Linked DNA regions of Homo sapiens: regions 2 and 3 are each linked to region 1. The links are contacts of gene promoters, found by promoter capture Hi-C in blood cells and fetal thymus (Javierre and others, 2016). All regions are on one chromosome and are shown on one strand. The core of a region is centred on a gene start or on the middle of the fragment in contact, and the rest is flanking DNA. Distances in the headings are between cores, read along the strand shown.

Region 1 (4,824 bases), core at 222-2,721:
TTGATCACGGAATAAGTGCCAAGCATATATAAAGTAGACCATTTACATAAATAAATTAATAATCATGGCAACTCTAGAAGATACTTAGTGAAAAAAACCCTTGATTGTCTTTGAACCAATCAACTAAAATAACATGATGAAATGGAGACTGGGCTTTGAATCAATTTGGAGTTTGCCTGGTTTCATAATTCATGGTTCTTCTCATGTAACTAATACAAAGTCCAGCTTCTGACATTGTAGGAGCTCAGTAGAGGTTGAACAAGCTACAAATGTACACGGATAGGTACCCTCTCCTAAGATGGGCAAGTGGAGGCTCCTCTACCTTAACACTATTCATTTTTCCTCCAAAATAAATTGATAACTAAATTGAAGAGCAGATACTCACAAAACAATATCATGAGACTTTACAACATCACAGATGATTTTAGATATTCAGGCATATTAGGTCAATTAGACATACGAAGTAAATAACTGAATGTTCTTGGGCTAGACGGAACCTCCGCTACAAACTAGCACTGAATGAAATGTGTCAGTTTTGAAAAAGGAGGTTTTTATACATTACACAACCTCTAAGGGCACTTAACAGCTCTAATATGTTTTATCAGGGCCCACTGCAGCAAAATTTATTTTATTGTAAAGCAATATTTTATGCTAAAATAAAATAGTTCTAAAAGTTGTTTCCACCCCTCTTTATGAATAACTTCTCACTTCTCCATGGCGAAAGAGGACTGACCACAGCAAAAATTCGGTGGAAACCAACAGCTCCTGGAACACAAAAACTGGGGTTGTTTATAATCTCTCCACCCTGAATATCTAGCACCATTACTATATAATAATAGGTGCTCAATAAAGGTTTGTTAAATAACTTTATTTTTAAACCTTAAACAGATACTAGAAGAGTCCATAGTTGATTTCTGGTCATGCAACGGTTTATTTCTATATTGTAAGTTATGTATTGTTATGTATTATTTCTGTATTAAGAGAACTGAGACCACAGTAGCAAACATCATTTAAAAAAAAAAACAGCTCTATATAGTTTGCAAAAGCCTATTTTTTAAAAGTTTAAATGAAACAACCAACGTTTTGAGTTGGGAGGATGTCCTGTTCTCTCTTGGGAGTTTTCACAACCAGCGAAATCAGTATAGTTACCACTGTTTTACGTACAGAGAACAAGAATTAGAGGCTATCACTAGCCAGAGCACAAAGTGATCTTAGGTCTCCCTCGAGACAAAATCCACTGGCGTGTGGATCAACTGCTTGCAGAGAGCATCTGCTGCCGAGGCCAATAGGAGCCGTGTGTACTCAAGACCCTAACCAGGATCCTGCAGGTCCCGCCTCCGCAGCCCCACGGGGCTGCCGGCCCCCCCACCTCCCATCGCGAGCCTGGCTGCGCCGGCGTGCTTGAGCCCGGTGACTGCAAGGCCCCGGGTCTCCCCTGCGCCTGCGCGGCGAGCAGCTGGCGGAACCGGCATCTTCTGGCGCCAGCTTCCGGCTTAGCGGCTGAGCTTCAGGCTTGACGTCAGGTGGGAAGGGTGTGGGGTGGCAGGTGGGGGCGGTTGGGAGGTTGGGGGGGGTTGGGGTGGGGGGGGTGGGGGGTGGCAGATTGACGGTGTGGGGGGAGTCAAGTGGAAGGTGTGGTCCAGCAGGCGGCGAGAAGTCTGTGGGGCAACAGACCGGGGGAAGGTCTGTGGGGCGTCAGGCGGGGTATCTGTGGGACGTCAGGTTGGGGTCTGTAGGGCGTCACGTTGGGGGTCTGTGGGGCGTCAGAGGGGGGAATCTGTGGGGCGGCAGGTGGGGGGTGTTCGGGGCGGGGTTTGGGGTGTGTGTGGCGGCAGGAGGCGGGGGAGGTCTGTGGGGCGTCAGGTTAGGGTCTGTGAGGTGTCAGGCGGGGTTTACGTGGGGTGGCAGGTGTGGGGTGTGTGGAGAGTCAAGTGGGGGGTGTGGGGCGTCAGATTGGGGGTCTGGGGGATCAGATGGGTGGTGTCTGGGACGTCAGGCGGGGGTCGGGGGGTCGTCAGGCGGGGGATGTGTGGGGAGTCAAGTAGGGGAAGTGGGGCGTCAGATTGGGGGTCTGGGGGATCCGGTCGTGGGGGTGTCTGGGACGTCAGGCGGGGGGCCTGAGGGGCGTCAGGTGGGGGGGTCTGGGAGGCGTCAGGCGGGGGTCGGTCTATGGGGGCAGCAAGCAGGGTGTTTGTGCAGCGGCAGGTGATGGGAGTTGCCGAGTCCACAGCGCTGTAGACTGCGCCGCATTAGAAGCCTGGCCTCCTGATGCTGTGCTCTTCATCTAGACCCAAGCCCCAGGTCGTGGGACGATTTCTCCCGTTTTTGACTCCCTGGAACTGTATTGCCTGCTTTACCTGCGTACATGTTGATTCTTTCTCATGGCAACCCCGCAGGAAACCATCAAGATCTCATTTTACAGCTGGGATTCTCTGGTTCACAGAGGTAACGGAGCTTGCCCGAGGCCAGGTATTCACTGGGAATCCGTGAAGGGTTGGGGGAGAGTAGGGGGAACGGGCAGAGGAATGATGTAGACTCCTTAGGGATTTTCCATTTTCCGAGAGGGTACAGGGGGCATTGGAGCGGGAGAGACTTTAGGCTTGGAGGGAATTACTTTATTTCTCTTCTTACACTTGGTCTTTCATTAACTTTTGGGATCCCAAAGCCCTTCTAGCGTCTTTGTCTGCTCATTTCTTTTTGCTGAGATTGTCCCAAATTGTCACTAAGTGCTGTGGAAGATAGGCAGCTGTAAACCCTTTGTTTCCTAGGGAAACACAGCTTGTCAAGGGTTGCATGAAGGATACTTCAGTTGCATTCGTCACTTACTCCTTTTTTTCCTCTCTCTTTTTTAAGTGCAATAGCATAGCACTTAATCACCTTCCATAGTCACTGAATAAAACCTGCCGGTTTATTTTCATGTGTCACTTCAGGACAATTTAGTCAGAACTGAATGAATGATGAATCGTTATTGTGTACTAATTGCTTGCATTCATTCTCCTGAAAGCTTTGCTTATTGTTAAAGAGTGAAGCTTCTTCCCACCTTTTTATCTCGTTAATATTTTGCAATATTTATATTTTAAATGTTGCTTGGATCAGCAAGCATTATAGTATTAAAATTATCAAGACTTACTACTTTTTAAAGCACATTTTGTAGATTATCTGATTTTTATCTTCATTCTAATTTCTACATAGTTTTTAACCCCATTTTATACTTTAGGAAACTGAAGCTTAGAGAAATTAAGTAATTGCCCAGTATCACACAGCTGTTAAATGTTACCATCCACATTTGAACTCAGATTTATTAGAGTCTAAAACCTGAGCCCTAACCAGGAACCTCCTCATTTGTCTTACTGCAAATGGAATGAATCAGCTAAAATCCTCAGAATCCAAAAAATAAAATTAGCATGTAAAAATGAATGGAAGTCCTAATCTTTGACTTTTTATGCCGTTGTAATGAGCAAAAATACTTACGACTAGTTTATGGCAATTTTGGAATCCTTGTTATAGGCGTAGCCATTTTAGGATACATGTGTATCCACACCATTACCTACATTTTGTCATTATAAAGTAATTTAAGTCCTTGCCTGGGATTTGTTGAGCGAAACTTTAACTTTGAGACCATGTAGAATCTATAGATATATCTGTAGAAACTATATACCAATATTTGAATATTAAAGAAATATTAGTTAACCTACTTTATTTTACATAGTTTATATAGAAATTGTAGATATAGCATTGTGTACCCTGTTTACTCCCTTGAGGGAGCAAATTTTGGGAGATAGGGCAGTGAACATACATAACCAGGTGTTACAGTCAGTTATGCAAACCAGATTCAGAGAGAGGAAACAACAGTATATTCAAAGATAAAAGTTTCAGGAAAGTGGTCTGTCATGCGTTTATCCCTCGATCTAACCCACTCAGTAGAAGCTGGGTTTCCTTTGTCAGAAATTAGACTGAGAAGTGCACCTTTTTTCTCTATAGGCCACCAAATGGCTGTTGTAAACCATTGCCAGGGCAGTCAGAGCTACTGAATATTTTTAACCAAACTGAATCTCACCCACTGTGTGTCTGCGTGCGTGTGTGAGTGTGTGGTATGTAACCAGACCATAGCTTTCCCTAGTGTGCTTATCCAGGAGTCAACTCTAGGTGTTCAGTAATTCATTCAGCAAACCTCCTACATGTCTGCCACTAGAGCACAAATTACAGCACAATTCCTGGCCTCTAGATACTGACAGTATAGTAAATGTAGTATTGTAATTAGCCATTTGATTTATTTTACTGGATACTAGATAATGTAGCCTTGTGCATGTGTGTGTTGCTCATTTGTTTGCGAATTGGAAGATGGGGAGTCACATATTTTCTGCACTGTAATAGATCTCCCCACTCCCAGCAAAACTTCTCCAACTCCACTGCCTGGGATACATGGTGGTGTGCCAGGAGGGGTCTGAAACCACAGGATAAAACATAGTTTCTATTCATGGACCATACATTTTACTTGAAATCTTTTTTTGGAAAAGTTATTTAACATTACATAGTTTAAACCATATTAAAATTACTCTAATATATTTATCTTCCAGTAGAACTTGTATGAATATTTAAAACTAAAGAAATTTACACTTGTGAAATTTTAGGAAATATTCTTGCCCTAGCTTAGCAAGGTACCCATTATTTCTTCTCTGACTTTAGCAGATACTTTAGGGAAAAGCTCTCCCCTCAGGACATTTTACGTTTGTTTTATTTTGTTAAAGCACTTGGCATTTTATTATACTCAGTTTCCACTACACTCCCCCCCTTTTTTTCTTTTCTTTTTTTTCTTTTTTTTTT
Region 2 (4,445 bases), core at 100-2,599, 260 kb before region 1:
CCCTTGGTATAGGCAGGTTTTGTATCCCATGAATACTGTATTTTCAAGCTTCATTTGATTGCAAACAATCTGTATATAAGTTGACCTACACAGTTCAAAACTTTTGTTGTTCAAAGAGCAGCTGTAGAAAGAGGTGCATAGGTATGGAAATGAAAGCAAAAGACAAATAGAGGAGGCAGAACATTAAGATGAGAGAATTAATTGATACATAGCATATGTATTGCAGTCTTACAAAATGGCATCTATAATAAATGACTGATTTAAAATATAATAAGCATAGATGGCCACTAAATTTGGACCTCACAGTTGTTTTAGAAATGATCAACAGTAAAAGTGAATGTAAGCATATATCTCAACATTTGCATCTTTCACAAGATAAATGTGTGCTACTTGCTGTGGCAATGGCACACTTTCTTTTCTTGTTATTTTGGTCTGTGAAAAATATTTTCCAATGAAGCATTTTATTTATAGGCACACATAACCAGGTTGTCAAAGTGGCAGTGTTTACAGAAGGATTGTAGCTAATTTTACCTGTCATGATACTCTGGTGTAGAAGATGTTAAACCTTTTAAGAAACAATTAAACAGAAATAATTAACATTTGTAAATTGCTATATAGCTTAAAATAACTTCTATATAAAATAGTTCTTGTAATCTTAAAGTTCTTGGAAACCATTAATTTCATTACTTCAATTTAATGTTTGAGATTACTGAACATAGCTCTTTCCCAAATCCGGTGAGGAAAACATTTAGGACTCAAATTCAGATTTCATGATTGCATATAATGTTTTCATTTAACTCTCCTGAATTTGGGATGTTATATTTTTATCCTGAGCATGTCATTTATGTTTTTAGTTTACATTGAAAAAATTTTCTTCTGAATTTTGATCAGAGGTAAGTAGGTCTTAGTGCATTGAGACAAATAACTAGTATATTTGTCCATTTTCACACTGCTATAAAGAACTTCCCTGAGACTGGGTAATTTATAAAGGAAAGAGGTTTAATCAGCTCACAGCTCCACATGGCTTGGGAGTGCCCAGGAAACTTACAATCCTGGCAGAAGGGGAAGCAGCCACCTTCTTCACAAGGCAACGAGAGAGAGAGAGAAGAGCAAAGAAGAACTTCCAAACACTTATAAAACCATCAGATCTCATGAAAACTCACTAGAACAGCATGGGGGAAACTGCCCCCATGATCCAATCACCTCCATCCCTCTACATGTGGGGATTACAGGTCCCCTCTCGACATGTGAGGATTAGAATTCGAGATGAGGTTTGGGTGACAACACAGAACCAAACCATGTCATTCTGCCCTGAACCCTCCCAAATCTCATGTCTTTTCACATTTGAAAACCAATCATCCCTTCTTAACAGTCTCCTCAAAGTCTTAACTCATTTCAGCATTAACTCAAAAGTCCATAGTCTAAAGTCTCATCAGAGACAAGGCAAGTCCCTTCCACCTATGAGCGTGTAAAATCAAAAGCAAGTTAGTTACTTCCTAGATGCAATGGGGGTGCAGGCATTGGTTAAATGCTCCCATCCCAAATGGGAGAAATTTGCCAAAACAAAGAGGCTACAGGCCCCATGTAGGAGCAAAATCCAGTGACAGTCATTAAATCTTAAAGCTCCAAAATAATCTCCTTTGACTCCATGTCTCACATCCCAGGCATGCCGATGCAAGGAGCGGATGCCCATGGCCTTGGGCAGCTCCTTCACAGGCTGGCATTGAGTGCTTGTGGCTTTTCCAGGCAGTGCACGCTATTGGTGGATCTACCATTCTGGGTTCTGGAGGATGGTGGCCCTCTTCTCATAGCTCCGCTAAGCAGTGGCCCAGTAGGGACTCTGTGTGGGGGCCCCAGCCTCACATTTCCCTTCCACACTTCCCTAGCAGAGGTTCTGCATAAGGGCTCTACCCCTGCAACAGACTTCTGCCTAGACATCTAGGTGTTTCCATACATCCTATGAAATCTAGATGGAGGTTCCCAAACCTCAGTTCTTGACTTCTGTGCACCTGCAGGCTCAACACCATGTGGAAGCTGCCAAGTCTTGTGGCTTGCAGCTTCTGAAGCAATGGCTTGAGCTGTACATTGTCCCCTTTTAGCCATGGCTGGAGTTGGAGTGACTGGGATGCAGGGCACCAAGTCCCAAGGCTGCACACAGCAGCAGGGCCCTGGGCCTGGCCCATGAAACCATTTTTTCCTCCTAGGCCTCAGGCCTATGATGGGAGGGGCTGCTACCAAGATCTCTGACATGCCCTGGAGACATTTTCTCCATTGTCTTGGCTAGTAACATTCGGCTCCTCGTTACTTATGCAAATTTCTGCAGCCTCCTTGAATTTCTCCCCAGAAATTTTTTTTCTATCGTTATCATTAGGCTGCAAATTTTCCAAATGTTTATGCTCTGCTTCCCTTTTAAACATAAGTTGCCATTTCAGATCAGCTTTCTTGAGTTCAAAGTTCTGTAGATCTCTAGGACAGGGGCAAAATGTCATCAGTCTCTTTGCTCAAGCGAAGCAAGAGTAATCTTTGCTCCAGTTCCCAAGACGCTCCTTATCTCCATCTGAGACCATCTCAGCCTGAATTTTTTTGTTTACATCATTATCATCATTTTGGTCAAAGCCATTCAACAAGTCTCTAGGAAGTTCCAAGCTTTCCCACGTCTGTCTGTCTTCTTCTGAGCCCTCCAAGTTGTTCCAACCTCTGCCTGTTACCCAGTTCCAAAGTTGCTCCCACATTTTCAGGTTATCTTTATAGCAGTGCCCCACTCCTGGTACAAATTTATTGTATTAGTCCATTTTCACACTGCTATAAAGAATTTTCCTGAGACTAGTAATTTACAAAGGAAAGAGGTTTAATTGAGTCACAGTTCCACATGGCTGGGGAGGTCTCAGGAAACTTAAAATCATGGTGGAACAGAAAGGAGCCACCTTCATCACAAGGCATCAGGAGAGAGAAGAGCAAAGGAGGAACTTCCAAATACTTATAAAAACATCAGATCTTGTAAGAAGATCTTGTAAGGAAAAACAGCATGGGGGAAACTGCTCCTATGATCCAATCACCTCCCTCCTTCAACATGTGGGGATTACTGGTCCCTTCCTCGACACGTGGAATTACAATTTGAGATGAGGTTTGGGTGAGGACACAGAGCCAAACCATTTCAACTAGTACATAAACTTTACTTAAGGAGTTCCCTTGAGTATGAAAAGTAAGTTGAGTTTCTTGCATTCACCAACGTGACTTAAAAGATCATTTCTTATCCTTTCATGTGCATATGAATCACCCGGGGATTTTGTTAGATACAGATTCTGATTTGGCAGCTGGGGGGTGGTGCCAGGCACCAGCATCTCTCATTGCATTTTCCACAATGCCAAGTTGATCTCTGGAGCTTCCCTCTCCATAGGCTTGCGTAGTTCCCAACTTCTTTTCAATTTACAGATTTCAGTATCAAATGTTACCTTGGAGAATTTCACAGCAACCTTGTTTAGTGTGTGAGCTATGAATTGCTATTATTGATCTCATTTTACCGATAAAACCAAGTCTTTCAAAGAGGTCAGTGAGTACTCAGAACAATTCAGCTGCTAGAAAGGCAATTACAAATTCACATTAATGGCTGTTTTTCTGATTTGAAAGCTCTTTCCACCATCTCACCACTGCCTTAGAAAAAGTGCTATGATACTTCGTCTTGCACTATTATACCAGGACACTGTGCATCAGCAAATGCAGGAGTTGGCAAAGTGGTGCAGTTGTAACCCAAAAAGGTTCAGAAGCATCTGCTAACTCCTGCTACACAAGCTCCAGTTCATTTCCCTGCAAGACAAACCTGCAATGGCACCACCTGGCTGGGTGCTGCTTTCTGGTTATGTTCTCCCTTGGCAGCCCAAGAGTAAGTTAGATTTGTGCTAGGTCTTGGCTCATTGCTCTGAGCCCACGTCCCAATTGATGGCTGGAGGAGCAGCTGCTCTTCACTCATTGCATGCATTTCTCTCCTGTCACTCTTCATTTAGACTTCATTCAACTTCATCTGTTTCCTGGCTGCCATTTAACTACAATCTCAGTCCTTCCTTATCTTTTAATCTAACTTTGATTTCACCTCCTTTTTCCTGTATTAAAGTTATATAAGAGGAGAATTTTCTATATGGTTAGAAGAGTGGTAGAAAATATATAATTATGTGTAGTTTCTTTTCTTTTTGAGAGAAATGCAATTTGTCAGGGTTTTAAAAAATGTGTTTGTTCTTTAATCTCCTGTTTTAAATTTTACCACAGCGGTCATTTTTGTTTTTAGAAAATTGCCTTCATCATGGTAGGAAGAATATTTTATATTTGGCTGATTGACTCTTCAGCCAAAAACTGTCCTTCAAGGTGCCATCTTCACATTGCGTATCCATAAATGTTGAAAGATGGTAATGACGGTGAAAGTATTATTTCATGATAAGCTGAAAAGGTGTGAC
Region 3 (4,202 bases), core at 759-3,258, 300 kb before region 1:
CACAGCCAATATCATACTGAATGGGCAAAAACTGGAAGCATTCCCTTTGAAAACTGGCACAAGACAGGGATGCCCTCTCTCACCGCTCCTATTCAACATAGTGTTGGAAGTTCTGGCCAGGGCAATCAGGCAGGAGAAGGAAATAAAGGGTATTCAATTAGGAAAAGAGGAAGTCAAATTGTCCCTGTTTGCAGACGACATGATTGTTTATCTAGAAAACCCCATCGTCTCAGCCCAAAATCTCCTTAAGCTGATAAGCAACTTCAGCAAAGTCTCAGGATACAAAATCAATGTACAAAAATCACAAGCATTCTTATACACCAACAACAGACAAACAGAGAGCCAAATCATGAGTGAACTCCCATTCACAATTGCTTCAAAGAGAATAAAATACCTAGGAATCCAACTTACAAGGGATGTGAAGGACCTCTTCAAGGAGAACTACAAACCACTGCTCAAGGAAATAAAAGAGGACACAAACAAATGGAAGAACATTCCATGCTCATGGGTAGGAAGAATCAATATCGTGAAAATGGCCATACTGCCCAAGGTAATTTACAGATTCAATGCCATCCCCATCAAGCTACCAATGACTTTCTTCACAGAATTGGAAAAAACTACTTTAAAGTTCATATGGAACCAAAAAAGAGCCCGCATCGCCAAGTCAATCCTAAGCCAAAAGAACAAAGCTGGAGGCATCACACTACCTGACTTCAAACTATACTACAAGGCTACAGTAACCAAAACAGCATGGTACTGGTACCAAAACAGAGATATAGATCAATGGAACAGAACAGAGCCCTCAGAAATAATGCCGCATATCTACAACTATCTGATCTTTGACAAACCTGAGAAAAACAAGCAATGGGGAAAGGATTCCCTATTTAATAAATGGTGCTGGGAAAACTGGCTAGCCATATGTAGAAAGCTGAAACTGGATCCCTTCCTTACACCTTATACAAAAATCAATTCAAGATGGATTAAAGATTTAAACGTTAGACCTAAAACCATAAAAACCCTAGAAGAAAACCTAGGCATTACCATTCAGGACATAGGCGTGGGCAAGGACTTCATGTCCAAAACACCAAAAGCAATGGCAACAAAAGCCAAAATTGACAAATGGGATCTAATTAAACTAAAGAGCTTCTGCACAGCAAAAGAAACTACCATCAGAGTGAACAGGCAACCTACAACATGGGAGAAAATTTTCGCAACCTACTCATCTGACAAAGGGCTAATATCCAGAATCTACAATGAACTCAAACAAATTTACAAGAAAAAAACAAACAACCCCATCAAAAAGTGGGCGAAGGACATGAACAGACACTTCTCAAAAGAAGACATTTATGCAGCCAAAAAACACACGAAGAAAGCTCATCATCACTGGCCATCAGAGAAATGCAAATCAAAACCACTATGAGATATCATCTCACACCAGTTAGAATGGCAATCATTAAAAAGTCAGGAAACAACAGGTGCTGGAGAGGATGTGGAGAAATAGGAACACTTTTACACTGTTGGTGGGACTGTAAACTAGTTCAACCATTGTGGAAGTCAGTGTGGCGATTCCTCAGGAATCTAGAACTAGAAATACCATTTGACCCAGCCATCCCATTACTGGGTATATACCCAAATGACTATAAATCATGCTGCTATAAAGACACATGCACACGTATGTTTATTGCGGCATTATTCACAATAGCAAAGACTTGGAACCAACCCAAATGTCCAACAATGATAGACTGGATTAAGAAAATGTGGCACATATACACCATGGAATACTATGCAGCCATAAAAAATGATGAGTTCATGTCCTTTGTAGGGACATGGATGAAATTGGAAACCATCATTCTCAGTAAACTATCACAAGAACAAAAAACCAAACACCGCATATTCTCACTCATAGGTGGGAATTGAACAATGAGATCACATGGACACAGGAAGGGGAATATCACACTCTGGGGACTGTGGTGGGGTCGGGGGAGGGGGGAGGGATAGCATTGGGAGATATACCTAATGCTAGATGACACGTTAGTGGGTGCAGTGCACCAGCATGGCACATGTATACATATGTAACTAACCTGCACAATGTGCACATGTACCCTAAAACTTAAAGTACAATAAAAAAAAAAAAAAAAAAAAAAAACAGCTATCAATGTTAAATATAAAAAAAAAAAAAAAATTAACTATCTACCGGGCATGGTGGCTCACGCCTGTAATCCCAGCACTTTGGGACGCCAAGGAGGATGGATCACAAGGTCAGGAGATCGAGACCATCCTGCCTAACACGGTGAAACCCCATCTCTACTAAAAACACAAAAAAATTAGCCGGGCGTGATGGCGGGCACCTGTAGTCCCAGCTACTCGGGAGGCTGAGGCTGGAGAATGGCGTGAACCCGGGAGGCAGAGCTTGCAGTGAGCCGAGATAGCGCCATTGCACTCCAGCCTGGGCGACAGGGCGAGACTCTGTCTCGAAAAACAAAAAACGAAAACAAACAAACAAAAAATAAAAATTAACTATCATGACTATCCTTCTGCAATCCACAAGCATTCTAGGGCAGAACTAATATTGGGGATTATTTCAGGTGTTACTTGACCATGGCTTTAGCCCCTTGCTCTTCTCACTCAACGTACTCAACTTCTGCTGTATCTTGTAGCAAAGTTAGTAATAAAAGGGCTTCTGGGATGACAGCACCATGACTGTAGCAAAACAATGTTGGGGTTGGGCGGGGGAAGAAAAAGAGAGAGTCCATGATGCAAGAAAAGTCCTGGGCCACACTCAGTTGGGTCATATTCCTTTTTTTATTATTATTATACTTTAAGTTTTAGGGTACATGTGCATAATGTGCAGGTTTTTTACATATGTATACATGTGCCATATTGGTATGCTGCACCCATTAACTCGTCATTTAACATTAGGTATATCTTCTAATGCTATTCTTAAACTTGAAAAGTGACCAAAGGTAAAATAAAGTCATCAGAGCAAGCAAGATTATGCTGATCAACTGAAGCCAATCATAGCCCACTTTTAGAGCTTGAGTTGGACCAATCTCATTCAAACCATGTGGTTACTACATTATGAGGAAAGAGTGGAATTAATGCTAACTTGTATATTCTCATATGTACACATACATGTATACACAATCCGACAGTCAACCTTAGGGAAAGATGTACAGCAAAGTGTAAAGTGTAGCTTTCCATAGAGTAGTAGGATTATGAATTCTTTCATTTTTTTCTTTTGAATTATTTGTACTTTGTAATGTTTCTATTAACAACCAAAAACCCTTTCTCTAGTTTCTGTAGGAGAGAAATCGTCACTTAAAAATACTCTTCAGGTTGTGCAAGTATCATACTGTGCAAGTTGATATTTATCTGGGATTCCAATTCCGTTTCTGTTGGTCTTTCATTATTTGACCTTGATCAGTCCTCTACTTATATTACTCCCTGAAGGTTTCAGATCTCTCTACCTGTTCTTTTAACTATCTTTTACTAAAATTTATCTTTGATGGTCTAAGGCTAACACTGGTTTATTAAACATTTTACTTTAAAGCAACCTGGTTTAGCTCAGCGTTTCTCACCTTACTCAGTTTCTCCTGTCCACAAATAGGAATGACAGCTAATGAGAGCAATGGTGTCCTCTGGAAAATCCAGGAAAGTTTGCAGAACATCTGGTTAAAATTAAACTAAACTCCAGTCTATGGGATGGTAACAGGATAACTGAATAGTAAGTCCCATCCCTCACTCTCCCAAAAAGACACTGTCTAAAAAGCAACATATGAACCAAACACCTTTACGAGAACTTCAGAAACCAATGAAGAAGCTGCAGTACCCTCAGGGAATGCAACTTCAAGAATATCTGCACTGAAATGGATAAGAAAAGCCTTTACATTCTACCGTCCCTCCCTCTACCCCAAGCTGGCAGAGCTCAGCACAGCTGGGAGAAAACTCTCAACTCATAGCTTCTCTCTCAGGAGGGAAAGAGAAGGAGGAAAAAATGCATCCAATGTTAGGGCTTTCAGGAGATAGCAAGACACTGATTTCTCTTCAACCTGATTTAGAATACTGACAAAACTTGCATACTTTAGATCCCTGGGAGCCACTGAGAACAAAAGAGAACGGTTGGCTTGCTGAAGCAGCAACAAAGATAAACACCAGAGGGAGCAGGAGATTACAAACTCCAAGAAAAGAAACAAGCAAACCTC

Evidence for each region. Contacts are between HindIII fragments. The CHiCAGO score rates a contact against its expected background, and 5 or more counts as called.
Region 2: a fragment that was not itself captured here is called in contact with the fragment with the promoter of LIG4 in region 1 in 1 of 17 cell types (neutrophils); the score reaches 5.1 in neutrophils.
Region 3: a fragment that was not itself captured here is called in contact with the fragment with the promoter of LIG4 in region 1 in 1 of 17 cell types (M0 macrophages); the score reaches 5.0 in M0 macrophages.

The regions. Positions count from the first base shown.
Region 1 is chr13:108,212,183-108,217,006 of GRCh38, reverse strand. LIG4 (DNA ligase 4) reads left to right here and starts at 1,471. Exons shown (of 3, transcript NM_206937.2): 1 at 1,471-1,523; 2 at 2,397-2,469. RefSeq lists a silencer at 1,269-1,408 and an enhancer at 1,252-1,546. The HindIII fragment of the contact is 5,824 bases long and covers 1-3,006 here.
Region 2 is chr13:108,469,934-108,474,378 of GRCh38, reverse strand. No RefSeq gene overlaps it. Among named protein-coding and RNA genes, the nearest start is that of MYO16, 160 kb to the left of the region's middle. The HindIII fragment of the contact is 2,598 bases long and covers 51-2,648 here.
Region 3 is chr13:108,508,406-108,512,607 of GRCh38, reverse strand. It overlaps a transcript of MYO16 not described here. Among named protein-coding and RNA genes, the nearest start is that of MYO16, 120 kb to the left of the region's middle. The HindIII fragment of the contact is 4,489 bases long and covers 1-4,202 here.